Regions from separate parts of the Homo sapiens genome. Here all the other regions are linked to region 1. Evidence: promoter capture Hi-C in 16 types of primary human blood cells and fetal thymus (Javierre and others, 2016). All regions are on one chromosome and are shown on one strand. Each heading gives the region's core, a stretch centred on a gene start or on the middle of the fragment in contact. The rest is flanking DNA. Distances are from core to core; before and after follow the strand shown.

Region 1 (3,573 bases), core at 630-3,129:
TTTTCCCCTGATCAGTGCTTCTCTGACAGAGTTGCTATAATTTATGAGAAAAATATCATTGGTCCTAAAGGAATGAGAACTTTGAAGTGGCTAATGGTTTTGTGTTAACTGCCGCTGACAAATCATTTTACGATGTAAGTCCCCAAAGTGTTTTCTGGCTCATAAACTAACAGTTTAAGATTTGAGACTGCTTTCTAATAAATTAAAATTTTATAAGCAATTTTTTTTGTCGGAGGACACACAAAATCTTTCATTTTTCTCATCAAAAACTTTGGGAGAGTAAAGCAAAAAGAAGACTCTAGGAACTAATTTGGGAAAGATTCGTTTCTTTGTTTTAAAGGTAAAAGCATGTGAAAAGCAAATATAAGCAGTTTTTAAACTTAAGAGGAAATGACAGGTAATTCTATTAGAAAAATGGTGTATGTATTTTTACTTACTAATGCAAAGTTTAACAATTACCACTTCATGTATTAAAAGATACTAACTATGGGGCTTGTTGTCACTTACCTTCAGGTTTACTCTCGCAGTTAAAACCTCGGCTTCCTCCATAACAAGTACAAACCAACGCATTGCCTAGGTAGGTCCGCTCCCACTGTTGATTTATCTGATAGTGTTTTCCATTGTCATAACAACCGGCTGCAAATAATTGAAGGAAAACGTTACATTTGCATTTCTCCTTTTCCCAAAATTATGGAATTTTCTTCATGTGAATATTGACGTACATATTTTTTTCCTTTTAACTTTGCTAAAAGTTATATACAATGATGTCATTTCCATCTGGCCAGGGGTCTACATAAAAAAGTTGGAAACATTTTGGAAGGCAGACAATTGAAGTCACATTTTTAAAACATGCAAGGAACTTAAATATTCTTTTGGAGTAATAGTCAAAAAGGACAACTTTAAGCAGCTTTCTCAAAGCAAAAGGAGGGTGTGTCTTTGAAAAACGGAAAGAATTCCAACCTCTGTTCTTGGTGAAGTATCCTGAGCGGCCCTAAAGAGGTCTGAACCAATTACATCTCTTCCAAGTTAGTTAGAAACAAGACAGCTATTTCAATACCCCCTTTCCACCCCCATGTTGAAAATATTTGACCAATTATTTAACAGAAGGAAATAAGTAGCAGTAAGGACCACACTAATCCCAGACGGAAAATTTATAGACATGCATCATTTTTCTCTTTAAAGGCAAGTTTTGGTTAATTCCTAGAAGGACAATCTGAACGTGCAGAATTTATTAGAACACGGGAAAGTCGCAGAGTCCTCGTCCTCCAATGCACGGTCTTATCATCCCAGGCCCTCAGAACCAGCGTGCTCAAAACTCGGTCCTTTTGTGTGCACAGCTGGTTTCTCTCAGTAAAGCGCGCACACACTCGCACACACGCGCGCGCACAAAACTTCAGCCCCAACTTTGGTCGGCTTTAGGGTCCCATCCCTGAGGCAGCCTGTTTCAGCCCGCGGTCAGTACTCACGCTTGCTTTGACTGACAGCCACCGGGGACTGGGGCTGAACCATTTGCTGAGCCTGCCTCTTGCTCTTCGAGGCTCCCGTGGAGGGCACCGCTGTCCCCAGGCACTGGACGGCCAGCAGCAGCAGCCCGGGCCCCGGACCCCTAAGCATGTTGAGACGGTGGGGGAGAGACGCCCGCACCGGGAGGCAAGTTGCCACCAAGTTTGCTTCCCTTCGCAACCTGCGGGAAAAATCCCTTCTAATGCCTCCCGGGGGTTGTCGCCTCCAAGAAGGTGGGGGCCAGAGGGTGGGGAAGGGGACGGGTGGAGGGACAGAAGGGATGCAGAGGACCAGAGAAGTTGTGGCTGCAGGTCCCCTCTTCCCGCTCGCGCCTGGGGTTCCCTCTCCTCCCCCTGTGCAGCACAGCCGGCGCGGGCGTCCGAGCGCCGGGAGCCGGGGCTTATATGGGACGGTCCCCTCCCGCCCCTCTGGAGGCCCGGGGCGCGGGGGAGGAGAGACCCGCCGGGCTGTCCCCGCCCCGCCCCACCCCACCCGCCCGCCCGCCCGCCGGCCGCCGCAGCCGACCGCGCGCCGATTGGCCCGGGCTCCGGGTGACGTCACGGGGGACTGTGGGTTCGCAGCGAACAAAAGAGATGCTGATGGCCCGCCAGGACTGGGGCAAGACAACTTTTTTTCGGTTTCCTTTGCGGTCATCAAACTTTTTAGGGGATGGGGGAAGGGATGGGAAGCGGCTGGGAGGAAAGGGAGTGGCTGGACTTGTGTGAAGCGAAGGGGTTGCAAGACGCTCCCCCTTCCCTTTTCTTTTTTATTGGGGGTGGTGGTAGTGTTTGAGGACATTGCGTCACCTCTCTTCGGGGTGGAGGGGGGGAATCTCTGCTTATAGGAGTGTATTTTGTGAGGAAGAAAACCCATAAAATATCCACGACCTTGCAGCTGTTAAGAATCCAGACTTTTCAGTCCCAGGGCGGGGCTGCCTTTCCCCCCATCCCGCTCCCTTTCTTTGGACTAAAGGGTACTGACTCGGGACTCCCTTATTTTGTCTTCACAGCTCCCTGTTCGGACTTCTTCCCTTCTCAGCGCTGTGCCTGTCTGGCTCTGAGAAAGGGCCAGCGGGCGAACGGGGAGCAAAGGGGAACAGAGACCTTTAATGAGCTTCTACTAAGTACCGGGAGTTCCGCGGGGCGCTTTGCAGATCCCGGGGAAGTTCAGAGAATGAAGTTTTCTTTTGCAAGGACAAAGTAACAGTTTACTTTTTTACACATGCAGGAAAGCCTTCCTTTCCTGGGGATGGGACGCCCGTTTCCACTGAAAGTGAAATCACTGTGAACAACCTGAAAATTGGAAAGTTGGACCAGCTGTGGGGAGAGAAAGGTCTTCGTGTCCTTTCCCACGTTCACCGTGCCAGTTACACACAAAGCAGAGATTTTTTTGCTTGAATCATTAAAAGCCGGGTGGGTGGGGGGCACCCTATGTACTGTCTTGCCCTCCTTCGGCCCCTTTCTCACATTTATTTGCCATTTTCTTTTTGCTGACAAGTTCCATTACAGAATGCCCCCTCCATCCCCCGCCGCCAGATTTTTTATATTTCAATTGTTATTTACTCCAAGAGTGTGGAAAGTTCTCCTTTAAGATTCCCCCGCCTTGAACTCTAAACTCAGAGTGGAAAGGGAATCTGAAAAGTCTCTCATTTAGCAACACATCACATCAGTCCTTTTTGTCAGATAAACACAGGCACAATTGCTTTTAAAGATCTTCAGAAGGAGGAGTCCACCACTTCCACAGTAGATCCAGAGAGACCCGAACTGAATGCTTTGCCTTCTCCTTGTGTTAGGAGTTCAGAGGTTCCATTTGCTTTAAAACACAAGAAGCTACTAATAAAATATATTTATTTCGGCAAGGTACCTATTTTCTCCAAAAGTTTCACCTTCAGTAATTGCCACAGGAGTAATTAGAACTCTGTGTTCTATAAAATGCCTGACACATTAAAGACACAAAATTAGCATTTGTTTTTATTCATGCAAGGATTTAAAACCAAACCAAAACAAAGCAAAACACCCAGCAAATATCAGTTTCCTACAAATAGTGTAAAAAAACCTCTTGAGGAATCTT
Region 2 (3,573 bases), core at 666-3,165, 530 kb after region 1:
CAGAGGCAGGTGGATCACTAGAGGTCAAGAGTTCAAGACCAGCCTGGCCAACATGGTGAAACCCTGTCTCTACTAAAAATACAAAAATTAGCTTGGCATGGAGGCACACATCTGTAGTCCCAGCTACTCAGGAGGCCGAGGCACCAGAATCGCTTGAACCCAGGAAGTGGAGGTTGCAGTGAGCCAAGATTACACCACCGCACGCTAGCCTGGATGACAGTAAGACTCTGTCTCAAAAAAAAGAAAGAAAGAAAGAAAAGAACAGAAAATCACACTAATGAGCAAAAGACATTGAGATAATTCACAAAAAAATCAATTAAGGCATAATATCCACCCTATAATAACCAAAGAAATTCTCAAACAATGAACACTGTGTTGCTATTGTTGTCTAGCCAAATTATCTATCAAAAATAAAATGAAATTGTCCAGTGCTGGAGAGGGTCTAGTGAAAGGGGCTATTTTGTATTATGATTGAGTTATAAAATTTCTGTCACTTTCTGTGAAAACTATTTGTCAGGATGTATCAAAGCATATAAAAATGGGCAAAATCTTTAACCCAAGAATTCCAGTTCTAAGAATCTAGACAGACAGACAGATAGATAGATAGATAGATAGATAGATAGATAGATAGATAGACAGACAGATATCTCTTTTTAAAATACCAGAAGCAAAATGCAATAAAATAGTACGATAGTATTTATCTTGGCTAGGATTACATGTGAGTGACTTTTTTTCTCCTGTACTTTTCAAATTTTCCACAATGCTCACATACTTCTTTTATAATCAGAACAGAAACTTTAAAATCCCTAAGAATGATTATTTTTAAAGCTTCCTTTGTAAACCTAATCTAGCATCTAATTAGCTCAAAAATGGAAAAGTCTAGGTCTGAGTATGACTATAACTTAAATTTATTTTAAAAGGTATTTGCTATGTTTCAGATGGCAACTCACAGGCCATAACTCATCTGATTTCAAAGAATTTTGTTAAATTGAAAATCCTATTGATACATTTGCAGGTTCCTGTGCATGTCCCAGTATTCAGCTGAAAACACTGTTGCTTCTGTGGGGCATTGACTCTGTATTCCAGGATCTCGCCAGCCTCAAAGGGGAGAAGGCAGACAGGGAGCATGGCGACAGCAAGAACAAGGTGACGACAAGGACAGGAGCCCCAGCAGAGTTGAGGTCATCTTGTGGGATAGGGGAGAACATTCAGCAGAGATAGGCAGGGGATACAGAGGGAGGAAGGAAGAGAAGAAATTAGAAAGTTAAAATGTGCTTTTTTAGAAAAACCAACAATCCTAGAAATCTGACAGTTTCTCATTCTTTAGCCCAAAAGCTTCTTGTTGTAGTGGTCAACCCTTTCCTAATTATTCCTCCAGGATACCTATCACCATGAACCCTACCTTACATTTGCTCTTCCTTTGTTTGCAAGCTGTCAAGTTGTTTATCTCTGCTTGACACTGAACAATTACAGTCCTTTTTTACCTTTACTCCCTAGGAGGAAGAAGTTTAAGCAGCAGGGCTGTGATCCATTCATTGACCTAAAGGGAGTAGGGGACTTGGTGGTGAGAAGAGATGAATGATCCCAGGAAAAAAGGAATGAAGGCAGGTGAACCAATCTAATTTCTCATCAATTGCACCTCCAGGTAATGAGAGGAATGATCTTTGCTAGGAGGAAAAACCTTGTCTACTGAATGCCCTTAGAAGGATGTCTCTGGCCAGAGGATTTCTTAGAATTGCAATACCCAAAATCTTTGAGGCGTGGCTCCCTGGAAAATGTCATGTAGCCAACAAAATAATGAGGGGTATCAAATGGAGTTCTTTTAAAACTTAAAAGCTTTGCACTGTACACCTTACTTAGACCCATTTAGTATTGTGAATCAGAGGGACAGGTCTAGGGAGGGAGAGGGGGTCCCAGGGAGACATCCTCAATGCCCCAGACCTCTCTCTGCTTTATCTGAGCCTCTCAATAGCCTGCCTCTTCGGAATTATTAGTAAAGCTTAATGATGGGTAAAATTCATGATCCGCGTGGATCTGATTTGACAATGGGTTTTGCTCATCCCGCCCCACTTCCATAGCTTGATTTCTACTTTCTAATTTTTCCATATTTTTCATGACCTACCCCAGTTCTTCTCAAATTACCTATATTCTTTTTTTAAGACTTACAGCCACAAACTAAACCACTTCCCTAATCACCCCAAGCACATCTAGAGCACACTGTGTCCCCACAAACAAACCTGGTCACACTGACACTTTAATAAAAGGGGCAGTATGTTGTGCTTGTCAATGGCAATAGGGTTCCTTTAACAGCTGAGAATTATTACTTAAGTTCAAGCCTTGTAAAACATTTTCCCTTTTTTTTTTTTTTTTTTGAGATGGAGTCTCACTCTGTCATCCTGGCTGGAGTGCAGTGGCACGATCTCGGCTCACTGCAACCTCTGCCTCCCAGGTTCAAGCAATTCTCCTGCCTCAGCCTCCCAAGTAGCTGGGATTATAGGCGTGTGCCACCACGCCTGGCTAATTTTTGTATTTTTAGTAGAGACGAGGTTTCGCCATGTTGGTCAGGCTGGTCTCGAACTCCTGACCTCGTGATCCTACCACCTTGGCCTCCCAAAATGCTGGGATTACAGGCATGAGCCACTGCACCTGGCAAACATTTTCCATTACAATTCTAGTATCCCATTCACTGTCCATTTTTACACCCCCATAATCTTTAACTGAGCCTACAGATTCTGCCTCCCTGACTCAAGTGTTGGGGTTTACTCTTACAAACGCTGATGCCAAAAGCCTCAGGCAAAATAATCACTTAAACTGAAGCAGTCCTGGGATTGTCTGGAAAAACTGGTTAACATATTTGTTTATAATTACCCCAGTCTTTCCTCGTTATTATAGACATATGAATGACTCCTCACCAAGCCAGTCACGAAGCTGCCTTTTGGATCATGAATTCTGCAGCCATTCCCAGTTTCTGAGACCTTTACCTTGTCAGTCATCTGCCTGCCTCTTTGTCAACATGATAGGCTTCAGATAAAGCCATTAAAACATTTCCTGTGAATTTAAAACCCCAGAATATGAAAGGAAAATAGCAGAGTGGCACTAGTCCAAGACAGGGTGCATTTTAATATATTTGAAAATTATAGTGCATTTTTTCACTTAGACTAATCTCACATAATAGAGCACTGTTTAGCCATTTTTCAAAAGAAAGAAATCACCAGTAAATGAAAAATGTTTTATACCCATAAATGAAAAAGCTAGAAGATTCTCTCAATCTCTAAAGAGAATCTCTTCTTCCAAAGTATCATAAATCAGGGGGTATAAGAAGTCTTCCTTAAAGAGGCTGCTCATGTGTCCTTTTTGTATGAAAAATTAAATCCACACAGTCATTTGCGCCAAGCCTACTGAGCACCAAGTGGCCTTAAGTAGAGGCCAGCAAACTTTTTATGTGTATTTTATGTTGGGGTTCTGTGTGAGACATCATTAGTAGCAAAAAAGCAGCCATAGTCAGTATGTAACCTCATGGGCACGACTGTGTTCCAATAAAACTTTATTTATAAATAGGCAGCAAACTGGATT
Region 3 (3,573 bases), core at 520-3,019, 510 kb after region 1:
TTTTATTAATCTTCAAAGCAAGCCTAAAAGAAGAGAAGGAGATGGATGAGATAAAGTTGATAGGAATACTATCAGCTACCACTGCTGGAGAATCTGCTCTGCACCAGGTGATATGGCACCTTGCATAAATTATCTTACTGAAACTCTTCATATTACATATTCTCTCAATTTAGTGATCTCACCTGTAAAGTGGAGTTAACAATGATAAATATTCCATTTAAGAATGTTATAAAGATTGATGGCATACAGAAAGTACAATATCTGCACACAGTGAGCATCTAATAAAATCTATATATTATTAAAGCCATTTTATAGATACAGTAACTGAGGCCCAAAGAGCTTCCTTGGCTAATCCAATGTCATCAGCTAATAGGTATCAGAATAGATATTGGAAGCCAAGTCTGGCTCAAAAGTTCATAAGAAACAGACACACACAAAAAAATCTATGTCTCCCTTTGTAGTCAGAATAAAGTAGACCTGAAAATCCCAAGTTTCTTGATTCCTGGGCAATGTCTCCTTCACCACCATATCTCAGCAACATTCTTTTTTATTCATTTTCCTTTGATAGGATGAATCTGTCACAAATTCAACTTTATCAACTGATTAAAGTTCTTTATCAGTCCTATGTAAAGGAGGCCATCATGTTGTTCCAATACAGAACTTGAATCTTTTAGGAGCATTGGGGTCTTTATTGAGATAAGTGTGCCTTTAAAATGTCATAGAAATTTGTCTTTAAGGAGGCTTGTCACTATAGAGCAGTCATTTTATAGAGTATACCTTTTACTGTTTCTTAGCAAAGACATTAACCACACAGCTATCCTAATGCACAGCCCAAAAGAACATCATTCTAAATGCTCAATTTAGGACTCAAGTTATATGATATTTTGACTCCTCTAACTGAAAATGTTTCAATGATGCCATTATTTCTCTACTAAGTTCTGTACAAGGCTTGCCTTGTTGATTGGCAATCAACTCATGACTGTTTAAGAAAAACCAATTTAGCTGCCATTCGCAAATGTTTATAGATACCACTTGGAAAAAGAAAAGCTAGCAAAACAAACTGTGTTTTGTTACGACGGCATTTTAGATCTTGAATCTGAGGATATGCCATCAGCAGGGCATGGGCTTTCAGCTATTTTCTAGAAGTCAGGAAGTGGCAAGTTTGAACAATTTCTCCTGGTCCTCTTTTATTTTACCAAAGGCATGTTGAACGTGCATGTGCACATGTGCATGGTGATTGGGGTCAGGGACAAAATCTGTGACCTTGGAAGAGGGCAAAGTTAACTAAGTCATATAAGAAATATGCAACCCTAGCCACATCTTTAGCATCATGTTAAGGCATACCTATCTAATCCCTCACAGACTATATAAGTTGTAAGGGAAAAAACTCAAGTACTGCTGTCTTCATTGGAAGGGCCTTATTATACTTACTTGGCCACTCAGTATAGCATATTGGAAAATACTGTGGGTGCTGAGCCTGAGTGTCTGGGTTTGAATCCCAGCTCTGTTATTTACTAACAGCCTGACTTCAGGGAAGTTCTTAACCTCACTGTTCCTCAATTGCCTCATCTGCAATATGGGGATAATAAAACTACCTACCTACCTCATTGGCTTATTGTGAGGATCAAATGAGTTAATACAAGTCCTTAAAATGGAGGTTGGTCCACATGCTCCTCCAAATCAGTGTAGCACAATTAAGAAACAATCCTAGGTCAAGGACGCTGGCTCACACCTCTAATCCCAGCATTTTGGAACACAGAGGTGAGCAGATCACTTGAGGTCAGGAGTTCGATACCAGCCTGGCCAGCATGGCAAAACCCTGTCTCTACTACTACTACTACTACTACTACTACTACTACTACTACTACTACTACTACTAATAATAATAATAATAATACAAAAATTAGCTGGAGGTGGTGGCACACACCTGTAATCCCAGCTACTCAGGAGGCTGAGGCAGGAGAATCACTTCAACTCAGGAGGCAGAGGTTGCAGTGCGCAGAGATCGCACCACTGCACTTCGGCCTGGGTGAGAGTGAGACTTTGTCTTAAAAAAAAAAAAAAGAGGGCCAGGCATGCTGGCTCATGCCTATAATCCCAGCACTTTGGGAGGCTGAGGCGGGTGGATCACTTGAGGTCAGGAGTTTGAGACCAGCCTAGTCACTACGGTGAAACCCCGTCTCTACTAAAAATACAAAAAATTTGCCGGGTGTGGTGGTGTGTGCCTGTGGTCCCAGCTACTCAGGAGGCTGAGGCAGGAGAATTGCTTGAACCCGGGAGGCAGAGGTTGCAGTGAGCCGAGATCACGCCTGTGCACTCCAGCCTGGGCAACAGAGCAAGACTCTGTCTCAAAAAAAAAAAAAAAATCCTCCAGGACTCAGAATTATTTCTACTATGAGCATGGAGGCCATGATACATTACATTATGCAGTATGCAATTTGTGAGGACCTCCAGAAGAAAAATTGCTCTGCTCTAAGTACTAGATGGTTTTATCTTTCCTAAAAATTATTTCATCTTTCTGGATGTTGTAAATTTTATAACTGATCCATTTCCACTTGTGCCTGAAAATTTCAAGTCCTTTCATGAAAAAATATATACATACAGGATTTCACAAGCATTTTTGAATTACTTCAATTTCTGGCTACTTGTTATGACTTTATTCATATTTTCCTCTTTCTTTCCTGTCTTATTCTAGTTTATCTTATCTCACTATACTTTTATGTAAGTTGCCTTAACTCCTTTTAGATAAAAAGATGACAATAAAATAAACAAAATATTAGGCAGAGCTACACTGTGCTTATTCTCAGTGAAAATGACCCTGCTTTCTGGACTTCATGAAAAGTGACCAGATTGTTAGTCACACTTGATTAGAGACCCACTCAATCAATCCAAGGATGAGTTGCCTCGTATGTTCACACAACTTTAACTTATGAAACAAACCACTAGGTGGCTTCTCCAACTTGCAATTAAAGGTCTCTGACAATTTTTTTTAGCTCCTTAGGCTGATGTCTTAGGCCTTGTTCTAAATGCAGCCAAATCTCTGTTTTTCAGAGACTCATTCATCATTGGATCATCCAGGCTTTGGACTTTTAAAACATCCTTCCCTTCCTGCTGTCCATCGATTAGTCATTTTGCTATTCCTAAATATCTACAATGAATGTTATACGAATTCATTCAGTTTCAGTGTCTGTTACTCTGATAAAACATTTAATGGGGAAGCAACACATAACTAATAATCAATATGAGATTAAAGATCTGCTAAGGATGGATCCATAGTTGATGCATCTTTGGATCCCACCTTCCCCTACCATGGTTTGGGGACAGCTTGCACATGACAGGTGGTTGTTAAAATTAGTTCAATGAAACTATGGATGTCATACTTCCATATTATTACTGTCTTCTTTTGACAGAATAGTCATGAATAATTATACATGAAAGTATCTGGAAATTTTATGCAAAATTTAAAGCTCTAAAACCAGTAGAAGCATTGACAGGGTTTTAACTAAGAATAGACACTTGATTACATAATTGGTAAGAGGAGAATCTGGATTCCTCTTAAACATGTGACTCCAA

Evidence for each region. Contacts are between HindIII fragments. The CHiCAGO score rates a contact against its expected background, and 5 or more counts as called.
Region 2: a fragment that was not itself captured here is called in contact with the fragment with the promoter of FN1 in region 1 in 1 of 17 cell types (non-activated CD4 T cells); the score reaches 6.0 in non-activated CD4 T cells.
Region 3: a fragment that was not itself captured here is called in contact with the fragment with the promoter of FN1 in region 1 in 2 of 17 cell types (M0 macrophages and monocytes); the score reaches 5.0 in M0 macrophages.

Annotation. Positions count from the first base shown.
Region 1 is chr2:215,434,189-215,437,761 of GRCh38, forward strand. It overlaps FN1 (fibronectin 1), which reads right to left and starts at 1,880. Exons shown (of 46, transcript NM_212482.4): 1 at 1,467-1,880; 2 at 508-636. The coding sequence starts at 1,614. FN1-DT (FN1 divergent transcript) reads left to right here and starts at 1,503. Exons shown (of 2, transcript NR_187198.1): 1 at 1,503-2,121; 2 at 2,731-3,573. RefSeq lists an enhancer at 1-391 and silencers at 1,904-1,963, 1,974-2,063. The HindIII fragment of the contact is 4,490 bases long and covers 1-3,573 here.
Region 2 is chr2:215,964,248-215,967,820 of GRCh38, forward strand. All of the region lies in intron 2 of MREG (melanoregulin), which reads right to left. Among named protein-coding and RNA genes, the nearest start is that of MREG, 48 kb to the right of the region's middle. The HindIII fragment of the contact is 163 bases long and covers 1,835-1,997 here.
Region 3 is chr2:215,947,211-215,950,783 of GRCh38, forward strand. All of the region lies in intron 2 of MREG (melanoregulin), which reads right to left. Among named protein-coding and RNA genes, the nearest start is that of MREG, 65 kb to the right of the region's middle. The HindIII fragment of the contact is 4,786 bases long and covers 1-3,573 here.